7 separate regions of the Homo sapiens genome follow, and all the other regions are linked to region 1. Evidence: promoter capture Hi-C in 16 types of primary human blood cells and fetal thymus (Javierre and others, 2016). All regions are on one chromosome and are shown on one strand. The core of a region is centred on a gene start or on the middle of the fragment in contact, and the rest is flanking DNA. Distances in the headings are between cores, read along the strand shown. Region 1 holds the start of DDX10 (DEAD-box helicase 10). Region 2 overlaps NPAT (nuclear protein, coactivator of histone transcription). Region 3 overlaps NPAT (nuclear protein, coactivator of histone transcription). Region 4 overlaps ATM (ATM serine/threonine kinase). Region 5 overlaps ATM (ATM serine/threonine kinase). Region 6 overlaps ATM (ATM serine/threonine kinase). Region 7 overlaps ATM (ATM serine/threonine kinase).

The links. Contacts are between HindIII fragments. The CHiCAGO score rates a contact against its expected background, and 5 or more counts as called.
Region 2: a contact is called between a fragment that was not itself captured here and the fragment with the promoter of DDX10 in region 1, in 2 of 17 cell types (total CD4 T cells and total CD8 T cells). The highest score is 6.2, in total CD4 T cells.
Region 3: a contact is called between a fragment that was not itself captured here and the fragment with the promoter of DDX10 in region 1, in 3 of 17 cell types (total CD4 T cells, erythroblasts and naive CD4 T cells). The highest score is 6.5, in total CD4 T cells.
Region 4: a fragment that was not itself captured here is called in contact with the fragment with the promoter of DDX10 in region 1 in 2 of 17 cell types (naive CD4 T cells and total CD8 T cells); the score reaches 5.3 in naive CD4 T cells.
Region 5: a fragment that was not itself captured here is called in contact with the fragment with the promoter of DDX10 in region 1 in 6 of 17 cell types (total CD4 T cells, naive CD4 T cells, naive CD8 T cells and 3 more); the score reaches 6.6 in total CD4 T cells.
Region 6: a fragment that was not itself captured here is called in contact with the fragment with the promoter of DDX10 in region 1 in 3 of 17 cell types (naive CD4 T cells, activated CD4 T cells and total CD4 T cells); the score reaches 6.1 in naive CD4 T cells.
Region 7: a contact is called between a fragment that was not itself captured here and the fragment with the promoter of DDX10 in region 1, in 6 of 17 cell types (total CD8 T cells, total CD4 T cells, naive CD4 T cells and 3 more). The highest score is 7.4, in total CD8 T cells.

What each region holds. Positions count from the first base shown.
Region 1 is chr11:108,663,132-108,667,011 of GRCh38, forward strand. It overlaps DDX10 (DEAD-box helicase 10), which reads left to right and starts at 1,938. Exons shown (of 18, transcript NM_004398.4): 1 at 1,938-2,208. The coding sequence starts at 2,023. The HindIII fragment of the contact is 12,853 bases long and covers 1-3,880 here.
Region 2 is chr11:108,191,707-108,195,586 of GRCh38, forward strand. It overlaps NPAT (nuclear protein, coactivator of histone transcription), which reads right to left. Exons shown (of 18, transcript NM_002519.3): 3 at 2,251-2,311; 4 at 412-484. Among named protein-coding and RNA genes, the nearest start is that of NPAT, 29 kb to the right of the region's middle. The HindIII fragment of the contact is 1,146 bases long and covers 1,345-2,490 here.
Region 3 is chr11:108,210,959-108,214,838 of GRCh38, forward strand. The region is part of intron 1 of NPAT (nuclear protein, coactivator of histone transcription); the gene reads right to left. Among named protein-coding and RNA genes, the nearest start is that of NPAT, 9.7 kb to the right of the region's middle. The HindIII fragment of the contact is 5,376 bases long and covers 1-3,880 here.
Region 4 is chr11:108,276,829-108,280,708 of GRCh38, forward strand. ATM (ATM serine/threonine kinase) reads left to right here. Exons shown (of 63, transcript NM_000051.4): 23 at 2,663-2,780. Among named protein-coding and RNA genes, the nearest start is that of ATM, 56 kb to the left of the region's middle. RefSeq lists an enhancer at 308-1,107. The HindIII fragment of the contact is 588 bases long and covers 2,131-2,718 here.
Region 5 is chr11:108,305,975-108,309,854 of GRCh38, forward strand. ATM (ATM serine/threonine kinase) reads left to right here. Exons shown (of 63, transcript NM_000051.4): 38 at 1,923-2,010. It also overlaps a transcript of C11orf65 not described here. Among named protein-coding and RNA genes, the nearest start is that of ATM, 85 kb to the left of the region's middle. The HindIII fragment of the contact is 1,394 bases long and covers 1,527-2,920 here.
Region 6 is chr11:108,332,243-108,334,830 of GRCh38, forward strand. It overlaps ATM (ATM serine/threonine kinase), which reads left to right. Exons shown (of 63, transcript NM_000051.4): 53 at 520-658; 54 at 1,644-1,726. It also overlaps a transcript of C11orf65 not described here. Among named protein-coding and RNA genes, the nearest start is that of ATM, 110 kb to the left of the region's middle. The HindIII fragment of the contact is 1,130 bases long and covers 774-1,903 here.
Region 7 is chr11:108,352,856-108,356,735 of GRCh38, forward strand. It overlaps ATM (ATM serine/threonine kinase), which reads left to right. Exons shown (of 63, transcript NM_000051.4): 60 at 911-1,025; 61 at 1,956-2,019. It also overlaps a transcript of C11orf65 not described here. Among named protein-coding and RNA genes, the nearest start is that of C11orf65, 110 kb to the right of the region's middle. The HindIII fragment of the contact is 171 bases long and covers 1,577-1,747 here.

The DNA.
Region 1 (3,880 bases), core at 688-3,187:
TGCCTGACTCCTACAGTTTTAGGAAAAAAGTGAGTTATAGCTGAGGGCCTTATCGTTCTGTAGGTATGCATATGTGGTATACATATGTAGTAAAATACACATCACATAAAATTTACCATTTTAGCCATTTGTAAGTATACAATTCAGTTGCATTAATTACATTCTCATTGTTGTGCAACCAATCTGCAGAACTCTTTTCATCTTACCAAACTGGAACTCTGCACTGATTAAACAGTAACCCCCTGGTTGCCTGAGTCCCTGGCAACCACAAGTCTACTTTCTCTATTATTTTGACAACTCTAAGTTTCTCATATAAATAGAACCATATATAGTATTTGTCCTTTTGTGACTGGCTTATTTCACTTAGCTTAATATTCTTAAAGTTTATCCACGTTGTGGCATGTGTCAGAAATTCCTTCTTTATGAAGGCTGAATAATATTCCATTTTAGGTACATATTATGTTTTGTTTACTCATTCATCAGTTGATAGACACCTGGGTTGCTTCCACATTTTAGCTATAGTGCTGTGGTGAACACGGTATGCAAATATCTGAGACCCTGCTTTCGATTATTTTGGCTATGCATACCCAGAAGTGAAATTGCTGGCTCACGTGGAGTTCTATTTTTAATTTTTTGAGGATGTATATACACTTTCATGTAATCACTCCTTATTGAGCTTTACTGTCTACCACATCTAGTGTTCCTGAGTGTGGAAATTCTCTTGTTCACCTCCTGTCCTCACTCCCTTCCAATAAGCCATGTCTTGTTTGGAGGATGGGCATAGAGTTGAGAGTAGTGATCTGGATATGTGGGGTTGGAAAGGAAATTTGAGAGCCCAAAATTCTGCCTGTGAACTTTGAACTCAATTTTCCAATCTCCTTTGCTACAGCTAAGCTCTCCCACCCACATCCGGTGTTTTCCTGGAGGCTGTAGGTAAATGTGTCAAAAAATTCAATTCATTGAAAGCCAGTTCACTTAAATGTCCAACTTGCAATAACTTTTCTATTACCTCCTTTTTTTTTTTTTTTTGACGGAGTTTCACTCTTTCACCCAGGCTGTGGTGAAGTGGGGCGATCTTGGCTCACTATAACCTCCGCCCCCGGGGTTCAAGCGATTCTCCTGCCTCAGCCTCCCAAGTAGCTAGGATTATAGGTGTGCACCACCACGCCTGGCTAATTTTTGTATTTTTAGCAGAGACAGGGCATCACCATATTGGCCAGGCTGGTCTCGACCTCCTGACCTCAGGTGATCCACCCACCTCGACCTCCCAAATTGCTGGAATTACAGGCGTGAGCCACCGTGCCCGGCCTCTATTACCTACCTCCTTACGTTTAGTTATCATTTTGTCTCCATAAAAGCATTTTAAGGCAAATTCAATTTGATTCCGTTCCAGTTTCCTTGCTGTTGCAGCTAGAGTCTGAGGGGCCCAGAGGAAAAGGAAAACCCAGAGGGGCATAAGAAGAATATAGAATATTCATTTTTATTCCTGAGGAAGTACAACCACCATGGATGGAAATCAGAAGTCACTAACTAGCTGTTTACTTCTGGGCAAATCTTTTGGCTCGTTGGCCCGAAAAGTGCAAAACGAGGGTCACAATTTTCATTCACAGATTGTATGTGTTTACACACATACTCACGAACGCTTAGCAAAGTTGAACCTGGAGCAAATGTGTTAATAGCCCTTAAAGGGTCAGTGTATGACGTCACCATAGTAACAACAACAGTGCGCATGCGTTTTTTTTTAAAGAGCCGGCGTGCTCCCGGCTCGGCTCAGCTCGCCCCCTTCCGTGGAGTGCTGCGCCCCCGTTTCCCCAGGCTGCCCCTCCCAGCAGGAGCCAATTCGCCAATCACAGCCCTCCTTTTCCTGACGTCATTGGCGCGTGCCCCGGTTTCAAAAGCTCGGGGGCGGGCTTCTGAGTTCGCGCATGCGCCTCTGTGCGTTTGTCCCATGCTGGTTCCGTGAGTCTGGCCTTAGGTGTCTCGTGTCTGGGGTTGATCCGAGCTGTCGCCGCCGCCGCCGCAATGGGCAAAACGGCCAACTCTCCGGGTTCGGGAGCCCGACCCGACCCGGTGCGGAGCTTCAATCGCTGGAAGAAAAAACACAGCCATAGGCAGAACAAAAAGAAGCAGTTGAGGAAGCAACTGAAGAAACCCGAATGGCAGGTCGAGCGCGAGAGTATCAGCCGCCTCATGCAGAACTATGAAAAGGTGAGGCCGGCGCTGGGGAGGGGGCTCGGGCCGGCCAGCAGCGGGGCAGCGTCTCACTGCGGCGAGGAGTTGCAGAGTGGAGGCGGCGGATCTGTCACCGGGACCCGGCCGGGAATGAGAGGTCACGCCGGGTGCCACAGCTCAAACCTCTGCACCGTTCTGGCCACTCTTCTGCTTGCCACACTGTTCCTAAAAAAATAATAGAAATGCGGCCGTACCTAAGGGTAGGGAGACTAATGCTGTAATAGCTACAGTCATATTCATATTAATAATACTGATGACAATAGTGGTAATAATGACACCTACATTTTTAAGCACTCACCATGTGCTTACAGTAATTGTTTGACTTGATCTGAGGTATGGATATTAATAATCCTATTTAACAGATGAGATAATTGAGGTTCTAAGAGGAATGAAACTTGTCCGAATCTTTCACGCTTAGTAGGTGGTGTGGAATTGGAAGCTAGATCCATGTCTTTCTAATCCCAAAGCCTTTGCTTTTAACCATGAAGCCAGACTGCATCCCTCAACATCATCTATGCTCCTTCCTGTGGCCACCTCATTTTCTCCACAGGCTTCATGTCCCCATCCAAGAATTGGCCTAGAAAAGCTGGACCGCTGGTCTGTTTCTGTCACCTATCATCCCCACATTGTAGCTGGTGTTCCCAGATGAGTATACCTGTAATGATCACTTTGACCTCCTGACTTCTTCCCCCAACCTCCAGACTCCACAGGTCTGTCAATTCCTCTTTTCCCTTTCCCTAAATCCCATGTTTGTTGGTCTTCACCCACATCTTTCAGCTTCTCAGCCCCCTTCTAGTGCAGTACAATCAGGGATTTAACAGATGGAACATTCTTGTAACTAAGGTTGCCATTGTAACAAATTACCACAAACTTGGCGGCTTAAAACAACAGAGATCTTGAGGTCAGGAGTTCGAGACCAGCCTGACCAACATGGTGAAACCCCGCCTCTACTAAAAATACAAAAAAATTAGCTGGGCCTAGTGGTGGGTGCCTGTAATCCCAGCTACTCGGGAGGCTGAGGCAAGAGAATCGCTTGAACCCGGGAGGCAGAGGTTGCAGTGAGCCCAGATCGCACCATTGCACTCCAGACTGGGTGACATGAGTGAGACTCTGTCTTAAACAAACAAACAAAAAAGCCCAGCAACAACAGAGATTTACCTTGTCACAGTTCTGGAGGCCATACGTCTGAAATCAGTTTCACTGGGCCAAAATCAAGGTGTCAGCAGGGACTTGCTCCCTCCAGAGGTTCTAGGGGAGAATCTGTTTCCTGCCTCTTGTAGCTTCTGGTGGCTGCTGGCATTCCTTGGCCTGTGGCTGCATAACTCCAGTCTCTGCCTTCTCCTGTGTCAGTCTATCTCTGTTCCTCTGTTATAAGGGCGCTTACGATTGCGTTTAGGGCCTACACAGATAATCCAGGATAATCACCCCATCCCAAGATCTTTAATTTAATCACATCTGAAAAGTCACTTTTGCCATGTAAGGTAACATTCATCCCTTCCAGAAGTTAATACATGGACATGAGTTGGGATCATTTTCAGCACCACATCCTAGCTCCACCATCTCAGCAGACCGTAGAGCTAGAAACCTAGGAGCAGTCTTAGCTACTTCTCTCTTACCTACTCTTATATCCAGTCGGTCACACTGCTGA
Region 2 (3,880 bases), core at 668-3,167, 470 kb before region 1:
TTAGCATTATTCTTCAAGCTTTTTTCTTTACAAGTTAAGAAACCAAGTGGGCATGGGTTCAACGCATCAATTCTGTGAATATGTAATAAAGAGACAGTTGCCTAAGGGAATTCACAGTGGCCTGGGATTAGGTGATTTGTATTCTAACAATATATCTGCCTTTAAATTGCTATGGAAACTTGGAAATGTCATTAAACTACTACATATCTTAGTTTTCTAAATATTTTATTAAAAGTATGCTATTTATTTCAAATTATGTCAGTCAGTAACCTCCACAGTACCAGCAACCTCTAGAGTAATTTCAAAACTGGATGAGTGTTATATAAGTACACTGTGTAGGTCTTAAGAAGATTTAAACCCAAAGTGTATTTGCATTCCAAAATCATTAGGCACATTCTAATAGCTTATTACCTGATCTGAGAAAGTGTATGGTCCAATTTCTTCCATAGAGATGACATTATTGCTGGGACATTATTTGATGTTTCTAAATCATAGGAGAAAAGGTTCTTAATAAACCCAGCTGAAGAAATTTCATCATTCATTCTGAACAAAGACACACAAAAAACCTTGTCTCTCAATTATTGACAGTATGTTGGAAAATGAGAAATAAATCTATGTTGTAAAATAGCTTGCAAAGCTATAATGCGGTTGCTTTCTCTTCTAAAGCCACTGAGTATCAGATACAATATGAGTAGAAATGGACATCTGTAAAATCTCTGAAGCATTTTTTGGCCAATAATTTTACACCTTCATTTTATTAAAAAAAGGAGAAACAATTTTTTGATCTTTGTTCTATCTGATATCATGTGACATATGAAAGTGAATTAAAGTAATCTGTCTTATAATAATTATCATAAAGGTTATGCAAATTCCTTATAAGTGTGGAAATTTAATCCTCAATTTTCTCATATTTAAAAATGGCTTTAAACAATCTCTCTCACTGGGTTATTCTAAAGACTAAATGAGAGGCCGGGCATGGTGGCTCACGCCTGTAATCCCAGCACTTTGGGAGGCTGAGGTGGGCAGATCATGAGGTCAGGAGTTTGAGACCAACCTGGCCAACATAGTGAAACCCTGTCTCTACTAAAAACACAAATATTAGCTGGGCATGGTGGCGTGCGCCTATAGTCCCAGCTACTCGGGAGACTGAGACAGGAGAACTGCTTGAACCCGGGAGACGGAGGTTGCGGTGAGCCGAGATCGCGCCATTGCACTCCAGCCTGGGCAACAGAGCGAGACTCCCGTCTCAAAAAAAAAACAAACAAAGAAAAGACTAAATGAGAAAAAAAACATATGAAAGCACGTAGCACAATGCTTATACACAGACAATGTCAAAAAATGTCAAGCTTCTTTTCCTTTGTTATCATCTTATGCGAATTCTTTAGTGCTAATTGTTTTGTTAATGTTGTAAGCTATTGAAAATAATCAATATTAGAGAATAAGCAGTCAAAACTTTCCCTCTAAAACATCCTTAATTTAGGCAAGTAGAATTTTATATTCTAGTAACTATAAGCCAGTGTATGACTGGCTTCTGTGTTCAGACTTAGACTACATAGAATTAAAATTAAAATGTCAGTTTAAAACTTTTTAACACATAGTGATGTCTGTTTATCAGTGTAGATAACACAGAGGTAAGAGTTTTATTTTACATATTTTTTAAAGGTAGTTTTTGGGTTATTTTTGCTAACATAAAGATTGTTGCAATTTATGTACCACTCAATGTAAACACAAACAAATGGCTGGGGGCAGTGGCTCACACCTGTAATCCCAGCACTTTGGGAGGCCGAGGTGGGTGGATCACCTGAGGTCGGGAGTTCGAGACCAGCCTGACCAACATGGAGAAACCCTGGCTCTACTAAAAATACAAAATTAGCCGGGCATGGTGGCGCATGCCTGTATTCTCAGCTACTTGGGAGGCTGACTGAGGAGAATCGCTTGAATCCAGGAGCTGGAGGTTGCAGTGAGCTGAGATTACGCCACTGCACTCCAGCCTGGGCAACAAGATTGAAACTCCGTCTCAAAAAAAACCAAAAAAACAAAAAACAACAACCAAAAAAACAAAACAAAACAAAAAACCAAAACCCACAAACAAATTAGATGTGTCCCAGAAAAATTTATCTCATTACAACAGGGACAAGTTTTTTCAAGGCTTTTATGAGACATTAATAACCTTTAGAAATCATTTTTAACTAAATCAAGTAGATAAATATTGTATACATCAGCAAAAAAACTCCAAATCAGAACTCTTACCTTTTGTTTTCATAGCTACATACTCATTTAAAATTGTTGTCAAGTTTTTTCCAAATAAGGACTGAAAAGAAAAAGATCAAATATTACCAAAATTGTATAATACTACCAATAATTTCTCACAAGAAAAGATTCTACCATTCAACTTAATAAAAGATCTGACTGCAGAGTAGCGATGAGGAAAGGGTAAAGAAGCAGGTAATCGAAAATGAAAATAGCCACTGAAATTAGGGTTTGCATCCAAGCTTCTAAAGAATCTTGCCTGTTTGACTAGGACATTATAGCTACTTGGGTATCACTGCTTCCAGACCCTCTCAGCAGACAGCTATACATACATGTACAAATGCATATACACAAGCATTTGTATCATCTAGCTGTATATATATATATTAAAATAACTACAGTGTCATACCAATATCTCAGACTATAACCCAACACCACTGGTTTCATTATTATGTTTATTTGTATCTTCTTCCTCACACAGTGAGAAATCTGGCTCCCACTATCTACAATTTGTTATTTGTTCAGAATTGTTAATTTAGAAGAAATCAGAAGGATTTATTTAATATTCATCCACGTTATTGTGTGAATCAATAGCATGTTGCTTTCTATTGCTGAGTAGTGGAGTATTGCTGTTATGAACACATCAGAGTTTGTCAATTTTTGAAAGACATCTTCGTTGTCACCAGTTTTTAAAATTTATTTTTATTTTTTAGAGACAGGGTCTTGCTCTGTCACACAGGCTGGAGTACAGTGGCTGCTCACAGCTTACTATAGCCTCGAACTCCTGGCTTCAAGCCATGTTCCTACCTCAGCCTCCCACAGTGCTGGGATTAAAGGTGTGAGCCATCACGCCTGGCCTGTTTTCAGTATTTTTTTTTTTTTTTTGAGATGGAGTCTTGCTCTGTTGCCCAGGCTGGAGTGCAGTGGCACAATCTCGGCTCACCAAAACCTCTGTCTCCTGGGTTCAAGCGATTCTCCTGTCTCAGCCTCCCGAGTAGCTGGGACTACAGGCGCACGCCATCATGCCCAGCTAATTTTTGTATTTTTAGTAGAGATGGGGTTTCACTATCTTGGCCAGGATGGTCTTGAACTCTTGACCTCGCTATCCACTCGCCTTGGCCTCCCAAAGTGCTGGGATTACAGGTGTGAGCCACCACACTTAGCCTGTTTTCAGTTTTTAGCCACTATAAGCAAACACCAGTGTCTAGGTTTTTCTGTGAGAACAAGTTTTCCAATTGATTTGGGTAATGTGAGTGTTGGTTCACATGAGGAGTACATGCATAATCATATAATCATGTCATAATCATGTCAAACTGTTTTCAAAAGCCACTGTATGACTTTTAATTCTTACCAGTAAGAAACAAGAGTTCCTGCTGCTCTGCATATTTGTGGTGAAGGACTTGCCAGTTTTTAAACCTGTTTTCTTATTTTAGCCATTCTAACAGGAATTAGTATCTCACTGGGGTATTAATTTGCATTTTCTTAATGACTAATGATATGGAAGATCTTTTCATATGCTTATTGCCATCTGTATATTTTCTTTGGTAAAGTATCTTCAGATCTCTTATCCACTTAAAAAATTGTTTGGTTTTTGTTGTTAAGTTTTAAGAATTCTATACATATGTTCTGG
Region 3 (3,880 bases), core at 972-3,471, 450 kb before region 1:
GCCTATAATCCCAGCATTTTGGGAGGCCGAGGTGGGTGGATCATGAGGTCAGGAGATTGAGACCATCCTGGCCAACATGGTGAAAACCCATCTCTACTACAAATACAAAAATTAGCTGCGCCTGGTGGTGTGTGCCTGTAATCCCAGCTACTCGGGAGGCTGGGACAGAATCGCTTGAACCAGGGAGTCAGAGGTTGCAGTGAGCCGAGATCGCGCCACTGCATTCCAGCTTGGCAACAGAGTGAGACACCGTCTAAAAAAAAAAAGAAAAGAAACAAAGTGAACATAAAAGTCCTCAACAGGGTGGGCACAGTGGCTCACGCCTGTAATCCCAGCACTGTGGGAGGCCGAGGCAGGAGGATTGCTTGAGCTCAGGAGTTCCAGACCAGCCTGGGCATAATGGCAAAAATGCCATCTCTACAAAAAATACAAAAGTTAGCTGGACATGGTGGTGTGCACCTGTGGTCCCAGCTACTTGGGAGGCTGAAATGAGAGGATCACTTGAGCCTGGGAAGTCAAGGCTGCAGTGAGCCATGATTGGGCCACTGCACTCCAGAATAGGTGACAGAGTGAGACCCTGTCTTCAGGAAAAAAAAAAAAAAAAATCCTTAACAAAATACTAGCAAATCAAGTCCAGCAACATATAAAAACAGTGATGCACCATGACCAAGTGGGATTTAATGCAGTAATGCAAGGTTGGTTGAATAAAAATAAATCAGTGTAATATACTATATCCCTAACGTAAAAGACGAAAGTCACATTATCATGGAAAAAGAACTGAACAAAATCCAACCAATCTGGGCAATATAGTGAGACCCCCATCTCTGCAAAAAATTAAAAATTTAGCTGGGTATGGTGGCATGTGCCTATAGTTCCAGTTACTTGGGAGGGTGAGGTAGAAGGATAGTTTTAGTCTGGGAGGCTGAGGCTGCAGTGGGCCATAATCATGCCACTGCAGTCCAGCCTGGATGACAGAGTAAGAACCTGTTTCAAAAGCAAAACAAAACAAAACAAAACTCTACCAAAGAAACCAAAAAAAACAAAATCCAACACCCTTTCATGATAAAAACACTAGAAATAAAAAGAAATTTCCTCAACCTCATAGAGTTATCTATTAAAAAAAAAAAAAGCCAAGTAACATCATCTTCAATGGTTTAAAATTCAAACCTTTCCCCATAAGATCAGGGAAAAGGTAAGAAGGTCTGTTCTTGTCATTTCTATTCAACATTGCATGTATCCTCTAGCCAGGGCAATTAGGAAAAAACTTGAAATAAAAAGCATCCAGGCCGGGTGCAGTGGCTCACACCTGTAATCCCAGCACTTTGGGAGGCCGAGCTGGGCGGATCATTTGAGGTCAGGAGTTCCAGACCAGCCTGCTCAACATGGTGAAACCCCGTCTCTACTAAAAATACAAAAATTAGCCAGGTGTGGTGGTGCATGCCTGTAATGCCAACTACTCAGGAGGCAGAGGCAGGAGAATTGCTTGAATCCGGGAGGTGGAGGTTGCAGTGAGCTGAGATAGGGCCACTGCACTCTAGCCTGGGCAACAGAGAGAGACTCCGTCTCAAAAGAAAAAAAAAAAAAGCATCCAGATTGGAAAGGAAAAAATCAAGATTACCCCTATTTGCAGATGACATGTCTTATATAGAAAATCCTAAGGAAGCCATAAAAAACAACAACAACAACAACAAAAAAACTATTAGAGGCCAGGCACCACGGCTCATACCTATAATCCCAGCACTCTGGGAGGCCAAGGCAGGCAGATTGCCTGAGGTCAGGAGTTCGAGACCAGTCTGGCCAACATGGTGAAACCCCGTCTCTACTAAAAATACAAAAAAATGAGCCAGGCATGGTGGTGTCCACCTTAATCCCAGCTGCTAGGGAGGCTGAGGCAGGGGAATCACTTGAACCAGGGAGGTGGAGGTTGCAATGAGCCGAGATGGTGCCATTGCACTCCAGCCTGGGCAACAGAGCAAGACTCTGTCTCAAAAAAAAAAAAAAAAAAAAAAAAAAAGGAGTTAAGAAACCTCCCTGGGCGGGGCATGGTGGCTCATGCCTATAATCCAGCACTTTGGGAGGCCAAGGCCAGCAAATCACCTGAGGTCGGGAGTTCGAGACCAGCCTGACCAACATGGAGAAACCCTGGTGCTACTAAAAATACAAAGTTAGCTGGGCAAGGTGATGCATGCCTGTAATCCCAGCTATTCCAGAGGCTGAGGCAGGAGAATCGCTTGAACCCGGGAGGCAGAGGTTGTGGTGAGCCAAGATTGCGCCATTGCACTCCAGCCTGGGCAACAAGAGCGAAACTCTGTCCCAAAAACAAAACGAAACAAAACAAAAACTATTAGAGCTAATAAATGACTTCGACAAGGTTGCAGGATACACAGTGAATATATAAAAGTCAATAAATCTCAATGAACTACCAAAAATTAAGAATGCAATGCTAGTTACAATAGCATCAAAAGAAATAAAATACTTAGGAATAAGTTTAACAAAAGTAAAGGACTTGCATACTAAAAACTGGAAAACGTCACTGGAGGAAATTAAAGACCTAAATCCACGCAAAGACATACTGTGTTCATGGACTGAAAGGTTCAATATTGTTAAAAACTCAATACTCCCAAAATTCACCGATACATTCAACACAATTCCTATCATAATCTCAACTGCCTTTTGTGCAGAAATTGACAAACATCCTAAAACTCCTAAGGTAATACAAGGGGGCTGGAATAGCCAAAATAATCTTGAAAATGAAGAAAAAGTTGAAGCACTTACACTTACCAATTTCAAAACTTACTGTAAAGCTACAGTAATCCAGACGATGTACGGGCATGAGGTTAGACACAGAAATTAGTGGAACAAAATAAAAAATCCAGACCTTTCTTATTTATCTAGTCAACTCTGAAGCATGGAATCCAGACATTTATGGTCAGTTTATTTTTTTTCAGAGACAGAGTCTTGCTCTGTCACCCAGGCTGAAGTAGAGTGGCTCAATCATAGCTCACTATAACCTTGAACTCCTGGGCTGAAGTGATCCTCCCACTTCAGCCAACCCAGTAGCTAGGACTAGAGGCATGTACCACCAAATAAATGCCCAGCTAATTACTTACTTATTGGTACAGATGGGGTGTCTCAGTATGCTGCCCAGGCTGGTCTCGCTCCCCTGGCTTCAAGCAATCCTCCTGCCTTGGCCTCCCAAAGTGTTGGGATTACAGGGTGAGCCATTACAGCTGGCCTGCATTTTTCATAACAGTGTCCATTAATGAATGGACAAACAAAATATGGCATATTCATATAATGAAATATTCAGCTATAAAAAGGAATGAAGTACTAATACCTGCTACAACATGGAATAAGGCTGAAAACATTATGCTATGTGAAAGTCAGACACAAAAAGCGAAATATTCTATTTCATTTATGTGCAATGTCCAGGCAAGGCACATGTATAGATACAGAAAGTAGATTTGTGGTTGGCAGAGGACGGGGCAAGGGGGAATTGGAAGTGACTTAATAGTATAAGGATTCTCTTTGGAGTGATGGAAATATTGAAATTACTGGTGATATCTGCACATTATGAATCCATAAATATCCTGGATTTTCATACCCTGAAAAACAACGAAGTTTACATTTTGTAGTATGTGCATCATATCTCAATAAAAAAATATGATTCCAATTTTTTTTTTTTTTTTTTGAGATGGAGTCCCGCTCTTGTCACCTGTGCTGGAGTGCAATGATGCAATCTCGGCTCACTGCAACCTCTGCCTCCCAGGTTCAAGCGATTCTCCTGCCTCAGCCTCCCAAGTAGCTGGGATTACAGACGCCTGCCACCATGCCTGGCTAATTTTTATATTTTTAGTAGAGATGGGGTTTTGCCATGTTG
Region 4 (3,880 bases), core at 1,175-3,674, 390 kb before region 1:
GGAGGCACGGGGGTCAGGGACCCACTTGAGGAGGCAGTCTGTCCCTTAGCAGAGCTCGAGCGCTGTGCTGGGAGATCCGCTATTCTCTTCAGAGCTGGCAGGCAGGAACGTTTAAGTCCGCTGAAGCTGTGCCCACAACCACCCCTTTCCCCAGGTGCTCTGTGTCAGGGAGATGGGAATTTTATCTATAAGCTCCTGACTGGGGCTGCTGCCTGTCTTTCAGAGATACCCTGCCCAGAGAGGAGGAATCTAGAGAGGCAGTCTGGCTACAGTGGCTTTGTGGCACTATGTTGGGCTCCACCCAGTTCGAACTTCCTACTGGCTGTGTTTATACTGTGAGGGGAAAACATCCTACTGAAGCCTCAGTAATTGCAGACGCCCCTCCCCCCACCAAGCTTCAGTGTCCCAGGTCGACTTCAGACTGTTCTGCTGGCAGCGAGAATTTCAAGCCAGTGGATCTTAACTTGCTGGTCTCCATGGGGGTGGGATCCGCTGAGCTAGACCACTTGGCTCCCTGGCTTCAGCCCCCTTTCTAGGGGAGTGAATGGGTCCGTCTCGCTGGCGTTCCAGGTGCCACTGGGGTATGAAAAAACACTCTTGCAGCTAGCTCAGTGTCTGCCCAAATGGCCGCCCAGCTTTGTGCTTTAAACCCAGGGCCCTGGTGGTGTAGGCACCCAAGGGAATCTCTTGGTCTGCGGGTTGCAAAGACTGCGGGAAAAGCGTAGTATCTGGGCAGGAATCCACCATTCCTCACAGCATAGCCCCTCACAGCATAGTCCCTCACGGCTTCCCTTGGCTAGGGGAGGGAGTTCCCCGACCCCTTGTGCTTCCCGGGTGAGGCTACACCCCACCCTGCTTTGACTCTCCCTCCGTGGGCTGCACCCACTGTCTAACCAGTCCCAATGAGATGAGCCATCTACCTCAGTTGGAAATGCAGAAATCACCACCTTCTGCGTTGATCTCACTGGGAGCTGCAGACCAGAACTGTTCCTATGTTGCCATCTTGCTGTTCCCTTGTTTTATTTTTCTCTAGTATTTATGATAACGTGAAACATATTTTAATATATTTACTTCTCCGTATTCCACTAGTATATATGTTCCTAAAGGCACTGGTTTTTGTCTGTTCTGTTCATTGTTGTATTTTTAGCACCTAAAACAATACTTGGCATGTGATAGGTATCCAATAACTGTTTTAAAATAAATGAATGTACTTGAAAAAAAATTACATGATGCTTCAAAAACATCAAAGCTGAAAATCATTTGAGTAACTTTAAAATGTAAGCAATCAATAATAAAAGATTACTATATTGTTCAGCAGTCACATAAAGTATTAAAACTAATATTTCAGTATTTGAATATGCCGACAGTAATGTTTTCATAAACTAGATTTTGTGTCTAACTCCTCAGGTTTGGAACTGTTTTTAGTAAGACCATAATGCATTGCAAGGATTTCTAATGAATATGTTTAGTAGTTCAAGCCCTTATTAAATTTCACAGATAAAAGCAAATGTATGCTGAACTTTAAGGACTGAGGTAATATAAGACTGAATTGAATGTAATAAGGCGGCAGTGTAGTGGTGGCATTAAAAAAACTGAAGATTCAAAAAGTATAAATTCAAGAATAACATGCAAGTAGCATTCTTTTTTTTAATTTTACACTTGTTAGATTTTGTCTTAGTCCCTTTGTGTTGCTATAAAGGAATACCTGAGGCTGGATATTTACAAAGAAAAGAGGTTTATTTGGCATATGGCGTCTACATCTGGTAAGGGCCTCAGACTCATGGCAGAAGGCAAAGAGGAATCAGTGTGTGCAGAGATCACATGGTGAGAGAGGAAGCAAGGGTGGAGGCGGGGAAGGCCATGCCAGGCTCTTTTTTTTAATAACCAGCCCTTGTGGGAACTGAATAGTGAGAACTCACTCATTCCTTACCCTCAGGCCTTAATCTATTCGTGAGGGATCTGCCCCCATGACTCCGACACCTCCCATTAGGCATAACCTAATGGGGATCAGATTTCAACATGACATTTGGAGGGGTTAAACATTCAGACAATAGCAGATATCTAATGTTCAGCTATTTTAAGAGCAGTGAGTGAAACTAGAAGAATCAGAGGAACATAAACAATTATAAAAGCTTCGATTACTAAAAAAGGATAAAAGACAAAGTTGATTAAAGAGTTATCCTTAAATATGTGGGTGTTACGCAAAAGGTGTACTGATCAACTTTTTTCCATCACATAAAACAAAATTTAAATGGTACATAAAAACATTAACTTACCCGCTTTCAGAGTGATTAAATGTTAGAGCAGGTTGACATTGGAATCTGTGGACTCAACTAATTGGTGTTCGGCCAGAGAACAGTTTATCTTTTCTGGCTAGTTTGAGTTCAGTGCTGTTCAAATTTGAGCAATAGTTAAAATATATTTTGAGACCCTCTTCAGTTCTAGGAGAAAATAGATTTTGTATTCAAGACCTTAATACTAAGCTGCTGGTCTGAACCTCTTTAAATAAACTCAGGTTTTGTTAGTCTTTAAGAAAGAGCTAGTATGTTATTATGTCTCACAGAGTGATTTATTTTTGTTCTGGAATATGCTTTGGAAAGTAGGGTTTGAAATTAGAAAATTATTTCACTTTTTGTTTGTTTGTTTGCTTGCTTGTTTTAAGATTGTTCCAGGACACGAAGGGAGATTCTTCCAGGTTACTGAAAGCACTTCCTTTGAAGCTTCAGCAAACAGCTTTTGAAAATGCATACTTGAAAGCTCAGGAAGGAATGAGAGAAATGGTAATTTTAAGTAACATGTATTTGCTGTTATCATATGCTTGCTATGAATATCCCATAAATTACTTCACCAAGTTTGGTATAAGAGAGTTTATAATCCAGTAGTTTACAGTATAAAGCTGCTCTAAAACAACTGTATGAATTGATTGAAACTGCATTCTTTCTGGGTCACAATGGGTCAAATCATAGCAATTTCTTTTGGTTTAGCATTTTTATGGAGAAACCCAAAATTTAACTGAGTTTTTATGGGAGTATAAATGGCTCCCTTTTTTATTTTAAAAATCCTTTTATATGTGATCTGATTAAAAGCTAATTAAGGGAACAGGTGACAATGGGAAGAAATGGATTGAGGAGAAGAATCTCACACAAAATCAAATCATTGTGGTGTTTACAGTGAAACTTGTGATATTTCACGTTTCTGTAGAATAATATATTTTTTATGGTAATGATTATCTTAGAGTTCAAATTTTTTCATTTATTTATGCCCTGGTTTGTTTCTTACAAGTATTTAAGGTAGTTAAATAACTGTCAAGTCTGTGATAGCAGGAAATTGAAAGGAACAATTGAAAGAATGTGAGTTTAGAAAAGAATTTCAATAGATTAGAAAGATAAGTGTAAATAACATAAAATCTAATGAGATAATGTATATTATACATTTTAAATCAGCCTGTCATCTGCAAAAAGGGAAAATACTGATCTGACAGCAATTCATTTAGAAAAAGACCTAGGAAGTTTTGTATCTTGTGATTATAGTATGAATCAACATTGTATTACAGTTACCAAAAAGGCTAACTCTGTCTTACACTGCATTAATAGAAGCATATTGTCATGAACAAAGTTAATACAAGAACTTGGATCTTTTATACTTTTTGCTTTATTTTTAGATCTTTTAATTTTTATGGGTACATAGTAGGGGTGTGTGTGTGTGTGTGATACGGGTATACAATGTGAAATAATCACATCATGGAGAATGGGGTATCCATCCCCCAAACAAATATCCTTTGTGTTACAAGCAATCCAATTACACTGTTTTAGTTATTAAATGTTTCTGTATTTTTTAGAGGATAACTATAATGTTTGGTTTGGTTCTGAGTAAAGTAAAA
Region 5 (3,880 bases), core at 974-3,473, 360 kb before region 1:
ATTTAATGTGATATTTTGCCACAACTAATCTGCTCCTCCCAATCCTTCCAGTCACTTCAGCAAAGGTTGTGATTACTCAGTTCTTCCAATTGTTTCTTTTAGTTTTACTGCTACAACCTTCATTTGACATGACTCTAATGTCATTTAGACTTCAGTTTGCTATGCTTTATATTTTATGTATTTTATTTTCTGTTGGCTAACAGCAATTACAAATCTACTATTTGGAAAAATATAAATTATAAACATAGACATAGATGCCCATCCTGTGATCCTACTAGATTATAGGCTGTTCTCTAAATGATCTAGAATGTGCTTATATGAATTTTCCTTAGGCCACTGAAATGAAAATCCTAAAATAAAAATTCTCATAGAGGCTTTGTAAACTATCTAAAATGTATCTCTTATCTTTAATTGGGAAAATACAGGTATAAGTGATTTAAGCATTTAAAACTTTAATATGTAATTTACAGTACTATTAAAAACAATTTTTATTACATAGTTTAAGGTAATCATTGTTTATGATAATCTGGTAATTTGTTATCATGAACATGGCCAAGACTTTTTTCATGTTTATCACTTATGTATTTATGTCACAACCATTGGAAGGTAAAGTAACTGTTTTATTTTATCTGTATACAGTGCCAATATTTTTATTACCTTAAGTGAAAATTTAAACTTCACATATAAAATTCTGTTATTGAAAAGGAAATACATATTTTTGTAAAATTTAAATGGTGTATCTTTTCTGATGGCTATAAGCCTCATTGCCTTCACTAAACGTCCCATGTGCATCTCAAACTCAGCTGTCCAAAAGCAAACGTGTCATCTTCTTCATCCCTTCCCCCAGCCTACTTTTTTAAATGTGTACCTTTTTGACAAATGGCACTCAGTTGCTTACTCTAGAAACCTCTCTCACGTATTTCATCTGATTACCAAATCTTGCCAATTCCATATTATGAATAACTTAGTCCATTTGTTTCTCTCTGCCCTTAGCATCCTTACTGCTTTCTAGCTCCATGATTTAGCACAGTTGAAATTCTTTCATTAAATTTTCCAAGTTATTTCTTGCTTCCAGCCATCTCAGATATTATTATTATTGCCTGTAGCACTATCCTTTCCTGCTCTGATGACTATTACTCTTCTTTCAGATATCACTTTTTCTTTTTTCTTTTTTTTTTTTCTTTTTTTCTCTTGAGACAGAGTCTCGCTGTGTCACCCAGGCTGGAGTGCAGTGGTGCAATCTCGGCTCACTGCAACCTCTGCCCCTCAGGATCAAGCAATTCCCGTGCCTCAGCCTCCTGAATAGCTGGGATTACAGATGTGTGCCAGCATGCCCTGCTAATTTTTGTGTTTTTAATAGAGATAGGGTTTCACCATGTTGGCCAGGCTGGTCTCAAACTTGGCCTCAAGTGATCCGTCCGCATCAGCCTCCCAAAGTGCTGGGATTACAGGCATGAGCCATTGCACTTGGCCAGTATCACTTTTTCTATGAAACTTTTCTTGTCTAGGTGAGGTTCCCTCTGCTAAGCTTCTGTAGCATTTTAAACTTTCCTATTATAACACTTATCATATTGTGTTGTAATGTCCCAGGCTAGTCAGTGAGTTCTGTGTGGTCTGACATGATCTGTCTTGTTCATGCTTATATACTGAGGACCTAGCACATAAAAGATCTTATTGAATCAATTAATTAGTCCTCCTTTGAAATAAAATATAAATTACAATGTAAGTTCTCACTTTTTTTAAGATAACAGTTTCTTTTAAAAGCAAAAGAAATCCTATTAAATTCCTTCAGAACCAATTTTGTGTTAGGTACTGCCCACCAGAACCTTATAGCATAGTGGGAGACAGACACATAAACAAGAAGGAAGAAGGTGTGTAAGCAAGAATGCCTGGGACTGAGGGGAGATATTTTTGTTTGTCAGAGTCAGAGCACTTTTTCCGATGCTGTTTGGATAAAAAATCACAAAGAACAATGCTTGCTGTTGTGGACTACATGAGAAGACAAAAGAGGTAATGTAATGAGTGTTGCTTCTTACGTTTAGGATCTAGAGTGTAACTTGTTAACTATCGGCTGAATTTTAACATGATTATTTTAGGTGAAGGTGTTGCAAAGTGTTATATTTAATTTGTGTGATATTTATATCTCCTTGCAGTAATCCATATTCAGGATAGCAGTTTGGTTAAATCAGTGTCAAGAACTCTCAATTCTAGTACCAGCTGTACCAGTAACCATGTTACCTTTGTTAAATTATGCAGCCTTCTTGGCTCCAATTTATTTCATCTATGTTAGGGATAGGAGCAAGTGTTTTTCCAAGTTACATTTAGCTGTATTACCCCTCTTTTTACTTTTCTCTTTGCTTTAGTTCTAAGAAGTAAATAGAGTTGTGTAAATGTCTTCTTTATGTATCTTTATTTTAAGATGTAAGTTTCTTTACTGTGTGCAGTGGTCTCAAAATCTGTGGCAATACTGTGCTGTGACAATGTTTATTTTCTTGTTTCTGGTAAATTGTTTTATAGTATAGTATCTTTGTTCCTGTTATTTCTCATGAGATTTTTAACAGTGCATACAGAAATTGCTAGAATGGATGGTCTGACTGATGAGTACTGCTTGAGAGTTGACCAGAACTCTGAAGAAATAGTGTAGTAGGCCTATAATTTGAATAGGTAGGAATCGATGTCTCATAAGTGTGTATGGTGGTGGTAGGGGTGGTTGGTAAAGAATGAGAGGGAGAGGTGAGTGAAAAATGAAATGTTTTTAAGCCTAAATGCATTAATATCTTAAAAAATTAATTCCTATGTAGTCTTAAACCATTCTTCTTCTCTAGTAGAAAAAGAAGTTTTATGCTTTTCAGTGTCTTTGCTTCTGGTTATTTTACCTTAGAGTTTTATACCAGATTATCTTCTGAGGAGGCCTATCAGAAGCTTTAATGTAGTGGAGAGCATTTGTTTTCTTGGTGTTGGGAGGCAGTTTTACCTTTGAGTCATTCATTTCAGACTTACCATTGGGGTAGAATGGTGTTGACATTAGCAGGAGTTGGAGAAGATAAAAATTCTTCATATTCCATTTTAATGCTGAATAAGATCCTGAAGAATATTCCTGGAGAAAGTATGAATGGGATATAGAAAAACGGGTAAAGACATGCATTCAAGTCCAAGCTTGTGCTGTGTAAAAATTACTTGTTATCCTGTACAGTATGTTGGGCAAAAACAAAGAACAACAATAAAACAACAACAACAAAAAAATTGCTTGCTGTCTTTGAACCTCAGTCTTATCATCTTTCAAAATCAGAATAATGTCTGTAGTGTCTTCCTTTCCATGGGGAAATTATTTCACTTCTCTGAACTTAACATTCATCGGAAAATTAACTTTAGTTGAGTGCTTGCTGTGTAGTAGGGTGTGCCTTATTCATCAGCTTTGCAGGCATTATTTAATTGTTGCACCCATTCTCCAAGGTCCATGTTGTTCCAGCATTTGCAAGTAAGGAAACTAGGAAACTGAGGTTTAAGAAGTTAAGTTGCTGAAGATCACACAGCTGGTAGTAGGCAATATAGCTAGATTTGAACCTACCTGTATTGTACTTCAACACTAGTGCTCTTAAGCACTACCATGTCCCATCTCTACAATGCTAGTTTTGAAAAAGATACTATCTATGGTCCCTTTCAATCTTGACCTACCTATTAACACAGTGGAAGATTTTTATTAAGTAACTCAACCTAGGCAATACATTAAGGAGAAAATAAGTCACAATAGGAAAGACATGTATTTGTGTCTTAGATGAAACAATATTTTTTATTAAATTGACTGTTTTAAAGTGTGTGTTGGGGGGTGCTTGTGTGCATTTGTATTAGCTATTCTGTGTATCCTATTCTTAGTCTGTGG
Region 6 (2,588 bases), core at 89-2,588, 330 kb before region 1:
CCGACACAGCAAAACCCTGTCTCTACTAAAAATGCAAAAAACAGCTGGGCATGGTGGTGGGCACCTGTAGTCCCAGCTACTCGGGAGGCTGAGGCAGGAGAATCACTTGAACTCGGGAGGCGGAGGTTGCAGTGAGCCAAGGTTGCGCCATTGCACTCCAGCCTGGGCAACAAGAGCGAAACTCTGTCTCAAATTAATTAATTAATTAATTAATTAAAATTGGTTCAAAATTCCTTAATATTTGTCAAAGCATAGGAGATACCAGTAGTAGTTTACTTTTTTCCTCAAAGCAGTTGGCAAAGTGAAACAATAGATTTTGAAAGGCACCTAAGTCATTGACGAGAGTATGTATCTTTGATGTATTTCATTTATGACTGTTTTGTTTGTATCTGAGGAATTATAATCATTCCATTGTCTAGATTTGTGCATAAATTCTGTTTTTCTCTTTGTTTTTCTAACTCTGAGAAGTTTAAATGTTGGGTAGTTCCTTATGTAATGTTTTTTGTTTTTTATTAATAGGATCGAACAGAGGCTGCAAATAGAATAATATGTACTATCAGAAGTAGGAGACCTCAGATGGTCAGAAGTGTTGAGGCACTTTGTGATGCTTATATTATATTAGCAAACTTAGATGCCACTCAGTGGAAGACTCAGAGAAGTATGTTTTTTTTAAAGAAGAAACGTTACTTTCTTGCTGTGTTACTCTCTGTAGAGATATATTAGTTATAGAGCCTAATAAGTAAATCTGCTTAAAATCACAAACGTAATCCAAAAGCTTAATTTATATCTGATGGCTTCAGCATTCCCTGGTTACTTTTTCACTTAATATCTCTTAATAGAACTGGTAATAGGTGACTACACTAAATTAATTATTTGATTTCTTCTGATAATCTTCTGGCATACATACTTATTACAGAGAATTGCATAATAGAGGCAAGTCTATTAAAATAATTGAATAACTGAACATTTCTAGCCTCAAAAGTTTTTTTAAACGATGTGGTTACTAAAACTGCCCTGGGACTTAAAAACAAAAAAAGGCTTTACCATTTCTTCCATAGGTGCTAAAATGCCATTATTTAATTATTATTCTTGCTGTGTCAGTTCAAATAATTACAAGCTGCTATATAATCTTTGGTTTTGTGACTAGTCTCTAAGTATGCTTCTAAGTATCTCCCCATACTTTAATAATTGTATTTTTTTCTATTCAGAATCATATCTTCAAGTTTAAATTCTTATTACTTGAAAACGAATGGGACTTCACATATTGTTTCTCTAAGCAAACAAAAAGTATTGACATGTCTTTTAGTTGCATTTAATGGTAATGTGACAGGAGTATGTTATCTATGTACTATGCAAACTATTACGTAATTATTTTAAGATGTTTAGTCTGGTTCCTCAGGTGGAATCTGGTCTAGTTACCCTTGTCAGGTAACCTGCAAATTTACTTGAAGCTACATTAACCACTGTTGAGCTTTGACTCTGAGCTGCATAGTGGCCAAAGCCCAGAGTCTTCATTTCTCAATCAGAGCCTGAACCACAGATTAGCAACAAGTTGGGGCCAGTGGTATCTGCTGACTATTCCTGCTTGACCTTCAATGCTGTTCCTCAGTTTGTCACTAAAATCTCTTCATTTTTAAATACAGAAGGCATAAATATTCCAGCAGACCAGCCAATTACTAAACTTAAGAATTTAGAAGATGTTGTTGTCCCTACTATGGAAATTAAGGTAATTTGCAATTAACTCTTGATTTTTTTTAAACTAAATTTTTTTTATTAGATTGAACCATTTGAAATAGTATTTTTATGTAGGTCAAAATTGGTTAAATATTGGCAAATTTCATATGTTTCAACCTATAATTTCTCAGTATTATATTTCCTTTGCCCAAGCCCTAAAATACTCAAAAGCTTCTCCTGCTTTCTTTTCCATTGCCTTCTGTTCTACACCTCCCATCTTTCTTATGAAGGTCTATAGACTGTTACTTTCATTGGCCAGAAGGAGAGTTTCCGTGTGCTTATGCCAAGATTAATTTTTGACTTGGCAAGGAAGGTTCCAATTGTCATATATTGTTTTTAAAAATTCTATGTGCAGTAAAATGTATTGGCTGTGATATATCACAGTATTAAGTAATATAGTATGTATTATTATAATATTAAGCTGACTTCATATGCATGATACACTTAGCTCTGTTCTAATATTCTTTTATTGCAAGAAATAATGGAAGTAATTTCATGTGGGCAGGGATATATGTAATAAGGGTTATAAGTTTAGAAAATGATCATCTTAAATACATTGTCTTTCTTTTCATTTTGCAGTTTAGTGCTTAGTATCTAGTTACTTGATTTGAAATGTAGCTGTATCATGTGGATTAACTGCTGTTTTTCTAGCTATATCAGCTAGGTGATTTCGCTGAATGTTTCCTTAAAATGCCAGATTTAGCAGTTATAACCCAGAAAACTCCTTCTACTGTTTTCCAAAATTTACTTTATGTTTTCGTGAGGAGTTATTTCTCAGATGACTTTACATATATTAGTGAATCTTTGATGAAACAGTAGTTAAAGTTACGAGCGTGAGCCACCACACCCGGCCT
Region 7 (3,880 bases), core at 412-2,911, 310 kb before region 1:
TACTTGAAATGACAAAATTATAAAAATGGAGAACAGATTAGTGGCTGCTAGAAAAATAGGGGGTCAGAGGGCTGGGTGATAGGCTATGGGAGGGAAATAGGTGCAGCCGTAAAGGGCAGTATGAAGGATCCTTATGATAGGAATATTATATATCTTGACTGCATCGATGTCAGTAGTAGTATAGTTTTGCAGGACATTACAGTTGGGGTGAAATGGGGAAAAGGCATAAGGGATGATCTTTTCTGTATGATTTCTTACAACTCGAAGTGAACATATAATTATCTCATAAAATGTCATTAATTTTTTTTTTTTGATGGAGTTTCACTCTTGTCGCCCAGGCTGGAGTGCAATGGCACGATCTCAGCTCCATGTATCCTTCACCTCCCAGGTTCAAGTGATTCTCCTGTCTCAGCCTCCCGAGTAACTGGGATTATAGGCACCTGCTACCACACCCAGCTAATTTTTGTATTTTTAGTGGAGACAAGGTTTCACCATGTTGGCCAGGCTGGTCTCTTAACTCCTGACCTCAGGTGTCAGGCCTCCTCAGCCTCAAGGTGCTGGGATTACAGGCGGGAGCCACCACACCCAGCCTAAAAATTTTTTAAATATAAATATATCATCTCCATTTTAAATTATACCAGTAGTTACTTCATTTTTAAAAATCACCCTTTAACCTAGATTTCTCTAGTTGGGTTAAGAAGTAGTTAGGTTATTTGGATTTGAGGTGGATCTCACAGACAGTGACAAAGATGAGGAAGGCAGCCAGAGCAGAAGTAAACTACTGTACATACTAGTGTTCATAGAACGTAGGTAACATGTGGTTTCTTGCCTTTGTAAAGTTCACATTCTAACTGGAAAGAAAGTAAATTAGCTGTCAAACCTCCTAACTTCACTGTATTCTTTACTTTAGGTGTTGCTTTTGAACAGGGCAAAATCCTTCCTACTCCTGAGACAGTTCCTTTTAGACTCACCAGAGATATTGTGGATGGCATGGGCATTACGGGTGTTGAAGGTGTCTTCAGAAGGTAAGTGATATGAAGTAAAGGAGGGAAATAATTTTTGATGTCAAAATTACATGGGCTGGGCATGGTTCTTTGCACCTGTAATCCCAGCTGCTCAAGAGGCTGAAGTGGGAGGATTGTTTGAGCCCAGGAGTTTGAGTCCAGCCTAGGCAATACAGCAAGACCCTGTATCTAAAAAAATACACACACACAAACACACACACACACACACACACACACACACACACACGGGTTAGAGATTTGTATAGATTATAGAATTTAGTGCTAGAATCGTATTCCAGTGCCTTATCAATACTAAGGAAAAGACCCTGGGTAAAAGCAATAATAGTTCCTCTTCCTTCCACCCACCTGGGACCTAAGCCCATGTAACATACATACTGTTATTCCAAACCTCCTCTGGAAGCATCCCACCTTTACTTTTAACACCTCTATCCTGGCTGACTCCTTCTTAATGATCCAAACTACTATTGGGTGCTCATCACTGTGCATATAGAAGAGACTACATTTTTATTTATAGGAGCTTGTGTTCTAGTATAACATTGTGCTACTAAAAAAGCTTTGCAGTTCCTTGTAGTTTTCCCAGCATAGGTCTGTGTACTCAACTTGGATTGGGGCAGATTGCAGTCAGTGTAAACTAATAATTGCCACAATAATCAAAGACTGAGAGCTGAGCCCAGTGGTGCATGCCTGTAATCAATAGTGTTGTGTTATTCTTGTAAATGCCAAGCTTGTGAAATAGTCAAATACATATTTGTATTCATTTCAAACGTCTAATGAAAGCCCACTCTGCCAAGTATTATGCTATTTTGAGATACAGATATGTAGATTATTAAGCATAGGCTCAGCATACTACACATGAGAGTATACAGATAAAGATACGTTGACAACATTGGTGTGTAACAAAATCCGTATTTATAATGTGTTTGACTCTAGATGCTGTGAGAAAACCATGGAAGTGATGAGAAACTCTCAGGAAACTCTGTTAACCATTGTAGAGGTAAAGTATTTTATAAGGAAGACTTTATTTTTTTTCTTACCAGGTAGACTGTGTATCTCATCAGGAAGTCACTGATGTGAAGAGCACTGCTTCATTTTAACATAGGGGGATGTGGCTGGGCAGCAGAAAGGAGGAGATTGTGCACTTAGCCTTTTCACACATCCAAAAATACTGGTTTAGAAATGCCTTCAGCCCCCTTGAGTTTCTTGGAATGTTAGAGCATTGTAAGTAGTCTCTAGTTTTCAATTCATAAATCAATTCTTTGACATTTAGATATTCCATATGGTATTATTATTTTCAGAATGGTTTCCATTAGGGTTTAAGAAAAATCAGAAATTTATATCTCCTTTTTCCCTGCTCAGGTTCAGAACTAATTAGTCAGACAAATGGAGATCAAATTGTCAGCATCATTACTAGAGGAACATGGCTTAGGAATGAGGGCCAGACTAGTTTACTGCTGGTGCTACCTCAGTACCTCTCTGCTGTCTTAACTTTGGGACAGCTCACCTGAATAGGGTTTGGGCCTGCAGAGCAAACACATGTAATCAGGATCACTGCCTTGTCTTGATCCAGGGCAGAAAAAAGGAAGTCAAACAAATTTCAGTGTCTGTGCTGTTAGTACCTATGCCAGTCATTCACCAATCTGGTAAGGGTATGTGAGACAAGAAATCAGGAGTGTGGCCTCCCCAGGGAAGCATGGCAGGTAGAGTGCAGTATGGGCTTGCCACTTTTCCACTACTCAGCTTTTCTTCCTTTAACCTGATTTATGTTGGACTGGCTGCATGTTAGTATTACTTTTACTGCATTTAAAAAACATTGATGCTGATCAAATTCAAACCAGGTTTCTAGAGATGGGGCAGGAATATGTGCATTTTTAAAAATCTCTCCTACTGTTCAACTAGGATATGAGAACTGTCTTAATTCATTGGCATTAACCATTAAGCCTGTGGTCAATAAGGGTGGGGCTTTATCCCTTGGAAGATGAGTAACAGTCCATCAGGGTGGTCCTGTGTGCACCTTTATGAACCGAGGCATCTTTATAGATCTCCTTTGGACTGCAGATGGTAATACAGATTTTGCTACAAGGAGTTTGCTGAAATAGGTCCCAATAATACGTTGGTAAAATTAAATCCAAGGCTGTGCTATTCCCAAGGTTAAAAATACATTCTTTTTTCTTTTACCGATTTCAAATTCTGTTCATACATGTTGTCATTTGTTACAGTTTGCCATTGGTTCTGCAGTAAGAATAAATGATAAGAAAATAAGCATGATGTGTAACATTTTAAAAAAATAATACATGGTAACATGGATGCCTCAATAATGTCGAAATTAAACTCTAAAGTTATATTATCTTGCACTTTTTCATGTAAGAAAAAGAGGGCTGGGCGCGGTGGCTCATGCCTGTAATCCCAGCACTTTGAGAGGCCGAGACAGGTGGATCACCTGAGGTCAGGAGTTCAAGACCAGTTTGGCCAACATGGTGAAACCCCGTCTCTAATAAAAATGCAAAAATTAGCTGGGCGTGATGGCGGGCACCTGTAATCCCAGCTACTCAGGAGGCTGAGGCAGGAGAATCGCTTGAACCCAGGAGGTGGAGGTTGTAGTGAGCTGAAATTGCACCATTGCCCTCCAGCCTGGGCGACAAGAGCAAGACTCTGTCTGTCTTAAAAAAAAAAAAAAAAAAAAGCCCAAACTTTTCAAATTAAAGAGTCAAAGCAGCTTAACATATTCTTTAGTATTTTACTCTACCTAGTTTCAGTCAGAAGGGATTTTTATGCTAAGGTGGATTTGGGAGTTTCTTCCAGTACTTGTATCCTACCTAACACTCACCAGAAGAAGGTAGTTCTTTTAGGGCCTCAGA